Linked DNA regions of Homo sapiens: all the other regions are linked to region 4. Evidence: promoter capture Hi-C in 16 types of primary human blood cells and fetal thymus (Javierre and others, 2016). All regions are on one chromosome and are shown on one strand. Each heading gives the region's core, a stretch centred on a gene start or on the middle of the fragment in contact. The rest is flanking DNA. Distances are from core to core; before and after follow the strand shown. Region 1 holds the start of PHKA1 (phosphorylase kinase regulatory subunit alpha 1). Region 2 overlaps HDAC8 (histone deacetylase 8). Region 3 overlaps PHKA1 (phosphorylase kinase regulatory subunit alpha 1). Region 4 holds the start of ERCC6L (ERCC excision repair 6 like, spindle assembly checkpoint helicase).

Region 1 (3,064 bases), core at 141-2,640, 480 kb before region 4:
CAGGTGGGGGATGGAGGGAGGAGCCGGAGATGAACGGAGCAAAGGCACTGGGGTCCAAGCCGGGCCGCCCCAAGGGTTGCAGACTGATTCCACGAGGCCAGTAAGCAGCGTTATCTGCAAGCTGCTGCCTTTTTTTTTTCTTTTTTTGAAACGGAGTTTCGCTCTTGTCTCCCAGGCTGGAGTGCAGTGACGCGATCTTGGCTCACTGCAACCTCCACTTCCAGGGTTCAAGCGATTATCCTGCCTCAGCTTCCCGAGTAGCTGGGACTACAGGAGCGCCCCACCACGCCCGGCTAATTTTTGTATTTGTATCGGCGGCGGGGGAAGCGGGGGGGGGGGTTTCCTCCATGTTGGCCAGGCTGGTCTTGAACTCCTGACCTCAAGTGATCCGCCCACTTCAGGCTCCCAAAGTGCTGGGATTACAGGCGTGAGCCACCGCACCCGGCCACTACAAGCTGCTTTTATTATTTTATTTTTATTTTATTTTTTTTGAGACGGAGTCTTACTCTGTCGCCTGGGCTAGAGTGCAGTGGCACGATCTTGGCTCACTGCAACCTCTGCCTCCTGGGTTCAAGCGATTTTCCCGCCTCAGCCTCCCGAGTAGCTGGGATTACAGGCGCGCGCCACCATGCCGGGCTAATTTTGTATTTTTAGTAGAGATGGGGTTCCGCCATGTTGGCCAGGCTGGTCTCGGACTCTTGACTTCAGGTGATCTGCCCTCCTCAGCCTCCCAAAGTGCTGGGATTACAGGAGTGAGCCACCGCGCCCGGCCTCCAAGCTTCTTACGCAGCCTTCCTTCTCCACTTTATTTTCAGCTGAATATTTGTTGCCTCAGCCTTGTGACCTACGTGCGCACGAGGGAGCCATCCAAAGCAGTTATAGGATCTCTTCCAGCTCGAGTCCTGCCAACGCCGCCTTCTGGGGCTGCCAGCTCCCAGCTGTTCCCCGCACTGGCTTCCTCAGAGTGCACCACTGCCTCCTCCCTCCCAAGCCCGCAGACTCGCCAGTTACTAAGGAGTAAAGTACCCTAGGGAGTTCCTGTTTGGTTGGTCTGGCTGGAAGTGAGGCGTGTAATCTGAGCTTTTAAAGTCAAAATCTAAAATACAATAAAGACCCAGAAATCCAAGTCTTCAGACCTGGAACACAAGCGTGTCTTTCAGTTTTGAAGTTCACTGTAGGTTCCTTTATAAAACTAGTCCTGTAGAACGAAGGAGAGCCTCCCCAACATCCTGTGTGCACAGCAAGTGTGGAAAACTGAAATAGTGATCTGAGGTGTTTCGAAAATAAACCTCGGAAAGCACATTGCCTACGGTGACACATTCTCGGCCCCGGGGCGGGCGAGCCCCGGGGTCGCAGCGCGCAGCTGCCAGAACCAGTCGCGCCCGCCCCGCCTCCCGCTCGCGTCTCCCGCAAGGTGGAGGCGGCGCAGCGGTCGTTGACCTGTTGGCGGCGGCCGGGCGGGAGGCTGTGGGCCGCGGCGGTCTCCCGGGGTTGAGGGGAGGATGCAGGAGTCACACGCGGAGGCCGGACTGGACTAAGGGGGCAGGAGCGGCGCCTGGGGCGCTGCGGCGGGGCTCTAGACCGCGGGAAGCCAGTGCTAGCGCTGGCGCGTGGTGGGCCCCTGAGGCCGCCGGAGTCCGGAGAGGTACGCGGAATCCGCGGCGCCAGGCCTGAGCGGTGGGAGGGCTCTGCGGGGCCTGGTGTTCAGGCGTCCCACCACGAGGGTGGAGCAGCGTTGGATACTTGTTCCTTAGGGACCGAAGGCTCCGGTGGCACCCGGGCTATTTCTCAGAGGACAATTAGTAACGTGTCGCCATGAGGAGCCGGAGTAACTCCGGGGTCCGGCTGGACGGCTACGCTCGACTGGTGCAACAGACCATCCTGTGCCATCAGGTAACTGCAGGGGTGTCTCTCGTAATCACCGAGCGAGGATGTAGCTTGTCATAGCTTGGACGGAGACCTTGGATGAACTCCGTGCGTGCGTGCGTGTGTGGGTGTGTGTGTGTGTGTGTGTGTGTGTGTGTGACGGAGACCTTGCATGAACTCCGCGTGTGTGTTTGTGTGTGTATCTGTATCTGTCTGTAGCAGGTTCTCCCGCCCCTGTTAATTATATATTTTTTCTGCTGGTTTTTCATTGCTAGTTCGCTAGTTCATTCTAACTAGAAAGGTAAAACTTTCTTTTAATAATACCCATTATAAATGCACTTAATAATACCTTTAATTGTGCCTTTAATAATACCCACATTTCAGACTCGAAAGGCTTCAGCCACCGCTTACCCCTTATTCAAGATAGTATTTGCAAAGGGCACAAAGTTTCAGTTATAAGATGAGTAAGTTCTGGGGATCTGATGTACAGCAGCATGGTGACTGTAGTTAATCATACTGTACTGTATACTTGAAATTTACTAAGAGAGTAGATCTTAAGTATTCTCACCACACCAAAAAAAAAGGTAGCTGTGAGGTAATAGATGTGTTAATAAACGTCATTTTGGTAATTTTCCAATGAATACATAAATCATCATGTTGTACTCCCTAAATATACACAATTTTTAATGTGTTGAATATAGCTCAGTAAAGCTTGGGAAGGTGGGAAGATAGCATTTGCCTGCAATAGGTCAGAAGAAGAGGAGGTTATAAAACTCAAGAGTGGAGAAGTAGAAGAAAGACCAAAGTCCCTAAAAAACCCATTTGGAAGATTCTGTTTCCTGATGTTAACACCTATGGTTACCTTCCTGCCCTCTTTTTCTTGACCTTGCAGAATCCAGTGACTGGCTTGCTTCCAGCCAGCTATGATCAGAAAGATGCTTGGGTCCGAGATAATGTGTACAGCATCTTGGCTGTGTGGGGTTTGGGCCTGGCCTATCGGAAGAATGCAGACCGGGATGAGGATAAGGCAAAGGCCTATGAATTGGAGCAGGTACTCAAAATAAAAATACAAAGAGATCTGGAGCTATGTGTGATTGGGGGTTGGGGGCAGAGTGGGGACTGAAGGAAGTGAAACCCACCAAAAGCTAAGAGAACTGTATTTTGCCTTTCCCTCTTTCATCATCTTTCTGAAATTATA
Region 2 (3,113 bases), core at 612-3,111, 280 kb before region 4:
ATCACTGATGTGCCTGGTAAAAGGCATTTCAGTGGAACAGACAGTTGCAGAATAAATGGGAAATAAGGAAGTGGAGAAAGCAAGGCATTTTGTAGTCAACAGAAGGAAAGACATGGGCAATTGCTTGAGGGAGATGTAGAGTCAAGGCAAGTTTAATTTGAAGGAGTGGAAAGAAATACCAAACAGAGATAATGTTACAAACTTTTTCATTTCTTACTTTTGAATAATCTTTAGAGTTCAAAGTATGCATGCACGTGAAAGTTCTTGAAACAACCCTTCCTTCGTGTTGGTGTTATTATCATTACCACTGTATATATGGAGAACCTGAGGTTCAGAGAGGTTTAGTGGCTTACCCCAGGTGTCAGAGAGTGAGCCACATTTGTGTGTGCCTGTTGGGTTTCACCCACTGGGTAAGCCCTGAAAATAGGGAGACGGATAAAATGTGGCCACTAGCACAAATGCCTCAATCCTTCTCGAACCTGAGTCTCCCTCTTCTATAATTTTAAGTTCTTTTTCTGCTTGTTCTGGGAAGGCCGTGGCAAGCCATGAACCTGGGTATGGATTATTTGTCTCTGATTGGATGAGAAGAGAAGCTAGCCCAGCATGAGAGCGCAAGTGGTTATTAGCAACAATGAAGTTGAGTATGTTGAGGACCGAGAATGGGTCTGTTGGATTTGGCAATCAAAGATTACTGCCATATTTACAGTGGTGTAAAAAGAACAGGCTGAGGAGCAAATGAACAATAAGGAAATAAAGGCAGGGGAGAGAGAGACAGAGACAGATAGAGAGAAAAGAAGAATTATAGTAAATATGGGTAATTTTAAAAGCACTTGTTTTTAGTGCTCAAATTATCCCAAATTTGGCCTTTGAGCTGGCTCCTATGTGTTTGTGACATGACCCCATCAGTTTTTCAGCACCTTTAATTTCTGGTGAACAAGGTTTCCCTGGTTTTCTGAACTATCCCTGCTCCAGCCCTGGAATCAGCCGTTTCTCTCAGAAATCCTGGTTCCTTTTAGTAGGGAATGGCATTTCAGTACCAAAATCTAGGTACTGGGTATGCTCATTGCCACTGGCATGCATTGCTTGCCTTTTCTGTAGACCAACCTAAGAAATATATAATTTTTAAAGAAATTATGAAAAGATTGAAGGAAATGGATTATAGCATAGTCTATAGTGCTACTCCAAAGACAGCGAGAGAGAGGGGGAAAAAGGGAGAAAGACCTACTTTAGAGCAGAACAGCAGCTAATAAATGTAGAAGGTAGACTAAAAAAAAAATCACTGTTTTGCAGCCCCCCAGTACAATAATTGATTTTGGCAAAGATCATCAGATGGATGCTAAAACCTTTGAGCAGAAAGGTCCTTGAGAACAGGATATTCACACAGTTTCAAATTATCACCCCACAGATTCCTTGCTAATTACAAAGAGGAAAATGCACATTTACAATAGGAAAATCTGGCAGTCACCAGGTTAAACAAGTTATTAAACTCAGCATTGTCAGTAGCAGGACAAGCTGACATCGTGCTTTCTGATGTGATCTCAGATGAAGTACAAAGCATCATTTATGAAATATTCTTGCCAGAAATGTTTATGAAGAAACAATTAGATGAACCTAGAGTGTGGGATATCCAACAAGTGAACTAGCCTGGACTCTTCAGAAAGCCATTATCATGAAAAACAAAAGAAGGTGGAGGAATTGTTCTGGATTTTAGAAAACAATGAACTCAAATACAATGTGTCAACCTTGAATGGATTCTGAATTGGAGAGAAATCTTAAACAATTATTAAAGACATTTTTGGAATGATTTGGGAAATTTACAGACTATATTAGATGATATTCTTGAATTGATGTTGATTTTCTTAGGCATGATAATGTAGAAGTCTTTTTCTTAGGAGATGCATGATGAAGTGTTTAGGAGTGAAATGTCATCATATTTGTAGCTTACTTTCAAATGGCTCAGCAAAAAGTGTGTGTGAGAGAGAGACAGAAATGTGGAAAATTATGACAATTGGTGAATCTAGGCAAAAAGGTATATGATTGCTTGTCATACTATTCTTTCAACTCTTCCATAAGTTTGAAATTTTTCAAAATAAAAAGTTGGAAAAAACAGTTCTTTTAAAGCCTATGAAATGTATGATGAGTTTCAGCAAATGATGCTGGGACAATTGGATATGCAGATGCAAAATGATGAAATTAGACCATTACCTCAATACCATAAACAAAAATTAACTCAAAATGGAAAAGAGACCTAAATGTAAGAGGTAAAACTAAAAAAACTTTTAGAAAAACAAACATAGGAGATTTTTGAGACGCTGGTTAGGCAAAGATTTAATACATATAACAACAAAAGCATGGTCCATAAAACAAACATTTGATAAATTGAACTTCATCAAAATTTAAAACTTGCCCTTCAAAAGACAATCTTTGAAAATTAAAAGACAAGCTACAGACTAGGAAAAAATGTTTGCAAATTTCATATATGATAAAAGTCTTGTATCCAGAATATACTGTTACAATTGAATAATAGACAGACAACCCAATTTAAAAATGGGCAAAATATTTTAATAAATACTTTGTCAAAGAAAATATATGGGCCAGGTGCAGCTGCTCACTGAAGCCTGGCCTGTATATTCCGGCACTTTGGGAGGCTGAGGCAGATGGATTACTTGAGCTCAGGAGTTCAAGACCAGCTTGGGCAACGTGGTGAAACCCCATCTCTACAAAAAATACAAAACTTAGCTGGGTGTGGTGGCACATTCCTGTAGTCCCAGCTACTTGAGGGGCTAAGGCAGGAGGATCACTTGAGCCCGGGAGGTTGAGGCTGCAGTAAGCCATGTTCGTGCCACTACACTACAGCCTGGGTGACAAAGTGAGACCCTATCTCAAAAAAAGAAAATTTATAAATGGCCTAATAGGCAAATGAGAAGATGCTCAGTATCATTAATCAGTAGGAAATCACAAATGAAAACTACCATGAGATACCATTACTCATCCACTAGAATAGCTGTAATCAAAAAGATAGACAATAAGTGTTGGCAAGGATGTTGAGAAATAGGAACCCTCATACATTGCTGGTGGGAATGTAGAATGGTACGGCTACTTTGGAAAACAAT
Region 3 (2,914 bases), core at 265-2,764, 340 kb before region 4:
CACTTGAAATCACATTTTATAAAGATTGTTGGTACTCAGAGTTGTATTTGCAGCAGAAAATGCAGAATAACCCAGAAATGGAGCCCGGAGCCCAATTCCAGAGAGGAAGGGAAAGAAGAGACGATGCCTGGACAATGTCTTATACATAGGGAACAGAGAGGGAATCAGAGGTGGCTTAGTTCCCTGAAGACAGCCTTATGCGCTTAATCCCTGCCTTTGAAAAATGGGCCAATACACAACACAGACAATAATTTGAAGCGTCTGTATTCAGCAAAGATAAATACAGCAGTCCAGTCTATAGGTGCTCTACTTAGCATTCTTTTCATGTGCTCCTGGTCTCTGTCTCACTCACCTACTTTCTACTACATCCAACTCAACTCCCTGACACCCTATCCCCCCATCTATTCTTAAACTCTTTCATATATATTTTCACTTCCTAATTCTAGTGTACATATCCCTGTATATCATGGTATCTGTGGGCATATGTCTGTTTCTTATAAAGACACATATTTGTGTGTGTATGTGTGTGTGTGTGTGTGTGTGTGTATAAGCATACATGGGAATTTTTCTGAATGTAAGCAGTTTTGATGTGTCTGTATATCAATCTGTATCTACATTTGATGGACTGAGTAAGAATGTTGCATGTGAGAGAAGGGATGTGACTGTGGACTCAGATTGACACACACAGATTGGTGGAAGAATAGCTTCAGTCCTCTTCCTTCATCCCATATGTAGGTAGCCTTGCTTGACAAATGTTTCTTCTAACTCTCCTTCTTCTGAATTGTGCAGAGACTCTGTTAACTTCCCTTTTTGCACTTAGATAACTTCCTACTTCAACCCCCTCCTTTATCTTGGATTTCTAAAGTTTTTCCCCAATATTGGGAATGGTGAGGGTGGGGATGAGAGACTCTCTGAACAATTCTTGCAGAACCAGTGACAATCTTATGAATATAATGAATAAGTAAGCATATAGTAGGGTGATAGAATACAGATAGTAGAAACAAAGAGAGGACAGCAAACCTTTTCAGCACTTCTCTCAGAGCAAATGGAAACACACAGTAAGTAGCTTTCTGACTACATTATTTTCTGGTCACTTTTAAAGAAAGTTTACAACCTGTTCTGAAACTATTTGTCTTTTCACTGGTTGTAAGTGTACCCCAATCTCAGGGAGTATATCTGTAGTGCCACAGGCAAAAGATCCACTCCTTCCCACACTCATTTGCCTGAACTTACTCGAAGGGCTGCATTTCTCTGAGTTTACGAAATTGTGTCATTATGGTCCCCATACAGTGGTATTTAACTTTTAAAGCAACTTTTAAGAAAACTCGACTTGTTTTTTGTTCATTTTAAGTGTGTGGTACTAAAAAGACATGTTAGACTTTTTTTAAAAAAGCACTTATGTTTTGAAAATAGAATAAATAATAAGAATTTCCAATTAAATCATGTCTGGTGCCAATGTGCAAAACTTCACATGTGTTTTTGTGATTGGAGTTTATTTCATGGCTTTATTCTACATACTCTGCTTAATTATACAGTACAGTCAAAGCTCATTCATTGGGTTGAAGTAGAATAATATTAATATATTAATACATATATAATATATTATACATTTCATAATATGTTAGATAATATATGTAAAGAAATGCAGTTTAATCATTCAAATACATACCCACTCAAACAAGGCTTACTAAATTCAAGCGGGCTTATTGACATCTGTAGGGAACATTTTCTTTTCTTTTCTTTTCTTTTCTTTTCTTTTCTTTTCTTTTCTTTTCTTTTCTTTTCTTTTCTTTTTTTTTTTTTTTAAGACGGAGTCTTGCTCTATCGCCCAGGCTGGAGTGCAGTGGGGTGATCTCGGCTCACTGCAACCGCTGCCTCCCGGATTCAAGCGATTCTCCTGTCTCAGCCTCCCGAGTAGCTGGGATTACAGGCATGCGCCACCACACCCAGCTAATTTTTTTTGTATTTCTAGTAGAGACGGGGTTTCACCATGTTGGCCAGTCTGGTCTCAAACTCCTGATCTCAGGTGATCCGCCTGCCTCAGCCTCCCAAAGTGCTGGGATTACACTCGTGAGCCACCGCGCCTGGCCTGTAGGGAACATTTTCTGATGAATGAGTAAAACATTTTTACTCAGCCTTTCAATTGTGTACAAATGGTGCTTCTTCCCTAATGAAGGGTATTTTAAAACAACTTGTTTTTCTAAATATTAAAAATATTTGGCAGAATCTTGTTTGTTTATACTATTCATTAGCCTTTTCTATAACAGGATTTATCCAGCAAGGATGAACATTGTCTCTACAGTTCCATCCTGGTTAATGAAATTTTACTACATTCTGGGAATCTTACACAACTGGTGGGGCAAAAGTTGTTCTTCACCACAGCTGGCAAAACCTCTGCCATTCCTTTTTCTACTTACCAAGTACCTAGTGTCTGCACTAATGCAGTGGAGATTATTTTCCACATGTAGTCTTCATTTCCTTTTTATTTATTTAATTTTAAAAAAATACAGCCATCAATTTTTATTCTTATATTTGGTAGACATTCATTTCCTTTTTAACTTGAGTAACCTCAGGTGTTGGTTTGTCCAGGGCAGCCCCCATTTATGCCTGTTTTACTGGCATAATTATCAATAGCACTGTGTCACTCTCAAAAAATGTCTCAGTTTGAAAGATATGGTCACCCTATATTTAGCAGATGTGTGATTTCTTTTAAGGCTAAGCCAAAAAACCAAGAACTTATTCTCAAACCACTAGTAGTACTTGTGCAGTAGTGGTATGGGGGTAAGGATGACAGTAGGGGGAAACTCCCTTCCCCACCAAATATAGAAATATTTGGCATAATGGCTCTTAAATAACCAATATTTGAGCACATACCAAATGCCATTGTTATATAGGCACTTAGCGTGAGCCATTT
Region 4 (2,761 bases), core at 96-2,595:
GTATATGAACAAGGACAATTTTTGTTGGCCCACAACCTCCTATTTAGTGTCACCCAAGCAAGCCACTTAAACTCAATCACATTTCCTTAAGCTCTAGGCTCTGCCTTCTTTTTAGGCTCTGCATTTGAAAATGACTGTATCTTAGTTGGTGCTTCTGAAGAAATGATGACCACAGCACTACTTCTTTTTTTTTAAATTATTTTTGTCTTCCTTTTATTATACCAAGTATGTGAACCTAGTTACTTATTTCTTAAATAAGAACTTTAATTTTTTTTTTTTTTTTGAGATGGAGTCTTTCTCTGTCACCCAGGCTGGAGTGCAGTGGCATGATCTTGGCTCACTGCAGCCTCCACCTCCAGGGTTTGAGATTCTTGAAGACCCTTCTCTCTTTCTCTCTCTCTTTTTAAGAAAATAAATACAGCATAACGCCCTGTGGAGAAGAAAAAAATTTTTTTTAAAGAGACGGGAGTCTCACCATGTTGCCCAGGCTGGTCTCGAACTCCTAAGTGCAAGTGATCCTCCCACCTTAGCCTCCCAAAAGGCTAGGATAACAGGCGTGAGGCACTGCACCCAGCCTTTTTTTTTTTTTTTTTTTTTTTTGAGATGGAGTCTCGCTTTGCCACCCAGGCTGGAGTGCAGTGGTGCAATCCCGGCTCACTGCAACCTCCACCTCCTGGGTCCAAGCGATTCTCGTGCCTCAGCCACCCGAGTAGCTGGGACTGCGGGCGCCCGCCACCACGCCCGGCTAATTTTTTGTATTTTTAGTAGAGACGGGGTGTCACCATTTTAGCCAGGTTGGTCTCGAACTCCTGACCTCACGTGATCCGCCCGCCCCGGTCTCCCAAAGTGCTGGGATTACAGGCGTGAACCACCGCGTCTGGTCGCTTCTTCAATGTTAGTTTAAATCACAGGGACTATGCCTCCCAGGGTGTTTGAATTCAAAGCACGGTCAGTGCCAGGTACTGGCGATCAAGGAAGGGAAGATATCTGTGGATGCGGGGCAGGGTATGGTTGGGGGACGCAGGCGTTGGAGATCTCCAGGGGTCGCCGCAATGACTGGGATCATATCGGGCAGTCTCCTCCACTCACAATGATGGCACACGCACGCGCGAACGAATTGGCTGCAGCATGGTTTGAATTGGATTGAAACGCGAGGGATCACAGACTGAGGCAGCACACTCCGTGTCTCGAAGGCAGAGATCACCTTCTGCTTCCCGGCGCGCGTAGGCGCAGGCGCCCACCGTCATGGGCGGGGCTCAGGCGGAGGCGTCGCAGCGCGTGGTCGCGGATTGGCCGGCCGCGAGGCCGTCGGTTGGCTGTGTCCCTCTCCACGGCGCACAGAGCATGCGCGGGGCGGGAGTGAGCGAAATTCAAGCTCCAAACTCTAAGCTCCAAGCTCCAAGCTCCAAGCTCCAAGCTCCAAACTCCCGCCGGGGTAACTGGAACCCAATCCGAGGGTCATGGAGGCATCCCGAAGGTTTCCGGAAGCCGAGGCCTTGAGCCCAGAGCAGGCTGCTCATTACCTAAGGTATGTCTGGACCGCTGGGCGGGTCTAGCTAACCGACCTGGCCCAGGGTGGAGGTGGGGTGGCCCCCGGATCCTCCTGGGGACCCGAACTGTTGAGGCGGAGCCTTTTGAGACGCGCGCTCGCGCTCTTCTCGCAGTAGGGTGTGGGAGTCAGCTCTGGATGTTTGACCAGATTTCTAAAACCTGAGGAGACCCCGATGCCTCTTCTTTTGGGCAAATGACCCTCCAGTATGGTCTCCTTAAAAGCCAGAGGAGCCTTAATTAATCAAGCCCTTCTTGATTCTTTTCAGCTTATCAAGCCCTAAGTCTAGGGGATACAGAGATGAGTAAAACAAGGTCCCCGCCCCCAAATTGTTTGTAATCTAGTAGTGGAAACGGATCTGTAAAGCAATAATTACTAGGTTTGATAAGTGCTGTAAGAGGTATAATGTACGTGCAGGGCACAGTGTTGGCATAAAAGAGGGAATGGCCAACTACAAGGGTGGTCAGCTAAGGGATGGCGTGGCAAGAGGAGACATTTGAGCTAGGCGTTGAAAAATGAGTAAACATTCACCAGTTGGCTAAGGGTGGGGGGCGTGGTAATGTTGGGATGAGAATTTAAATTTTTTCTTAAATTGTGGTAAAGTACACATAACATAAATTTTATCTTTTTGTGCAGAAACTGGGTTTTATGAAAAATAAAGTTTATCATCCTAACCATTTTTAAATGTACAGTTCAGTAGTGTTGACTACATTCATATTGTTGTGCAGCCGTCCGTCATCTCCAGAACTTTTCTCATGTGGCAAAACTGAAACTACTCCCATTAAACAAACTCCCCATTTCCCCCTCCCTTCAGCCCCTAGCAACCATTATTCTGTCTCTGTGAATTTTACTGCTTTAATTTTTTTTGAGACAGGGTCTTGCTGTGTCGCCCAGACTGGAATTCAGTGGCCTGATCATAGTTCACTGCAGCCTCGAACTCCTGGGCTCAAGCAGTCCTCCTGCCCCAGCCTCCCTAGTAGCTGGGACTTAAGGTGGGTGCCACCATGTCCAGCCAATTTATTATTTTACTATTGTTGTTTTATATATATTTTTAGAGACAGGGTCTGGCTCTGTCACCCAGGCTGGAGTGCAGTGGCGCGATCTCTAACTCAGCTCACTGCAACTTCCATCCCCCGGGGCTCATGCGATCCTCCCACCTGTTTCCGGAGTAGCTGGGACCACAGGCGCACACCACCACACCCAGCTATTTTT

What was found. The method cuts DNA at HindIII sites, captures the fragments that hold promoters and counts their contacts. A CHiCAGO score of 5 or more calls a contact.
Region 1: a contact is called between the fragment with the promoter of PHKA1 here and the fragment with the promoter of ERCC6L in region 4, in 2 of 17 cell types (megakaryocytes and M0 macrophages). The highest score is 9.6, in megakaryocytes.
Region 2: a contact is called between a fragment that was not itself captured here and the fragment with the promoter of ERCC6L in region 4, in 1 of 17 cell types (M2 macrophages). The highest score is 5.1, in M2 macrophages.
Region 3: a contact is called between a fragment that was not itself captured here and the fragment with the promoter of ERCC6L in region 4, in 4 of 17 cell types (megakaryocytes, monocytes, fetal thymus and 1 more). The highest score is 6.8, in megakaryocytes.

What each region holds. Positions count from the first base shown.
Region 1 is chrX:72,712,632-72,715,695 of GRCh38, reverse strand. It overlaps PHKA1 (phosphorylase kinase regulatory subunit alpha 1), which reads left to right and starts at 1,390. Exons shown (of 32, transcript NM_002637.4): 1 at 1,390-1,893; 2 at 2,759-2,917. The coding sequence starts at 1,816. RefSeq lists enhancers at 113-1,101, 1,102-2,086 and a silencer at 1,260-1,409. The HindIII fragment of the contact is 1,799 bases long and covers 781-2,579 here.
Region 2 is chrX:72,519,379-72,522,491 of GRCh38, reverse strand. The region is part of intron 4 of HDAC8 (histone deacetylase 8); the gene reads left to right. Among named protein-coding and RNA genes, the nearest start is that of HDAC8, 52 kb to the left of the region's middle. The HindIII fragment of the contact is 6,275 bases long and covers 1-3,113 here.
Region 3 is chrX:72,577,370-72,580,283 of GRCh38, reverse strand. It overlaps PHKA1 (phosphorylase kinase regulatory subunit alpha 1), which reads left to right. Exons shown (of 32, transcript NM_002637.4): 32 at 1-1,470. Among named protein-coding and RNA genes, the nearest start is that of HDAC8, 6.0 kb to the right of the region's middle. The HindIII fragment of the contact is 3,710 bases long and covers 1-2,914 here.
Region 4 is chrX:72,237,611-72,240,371 of GRCh38, reverse strand. It overlaps ERCC6L (ERCC excision repair 6 like, spindle assembly checkpoint helicase), which reads left to right and starts at 1,345. Exons shown (of 2, transcript NM_017669.4): 1 at 1,345-1,528. The coding sequence starts at 1,461. It also overlaps a transcript of PIN4 not described here. RefSeq lists an enhancer at 1,414-1,563. The HindIII fragment of the contact is 5,695 bases long and covers 1-2,761 here.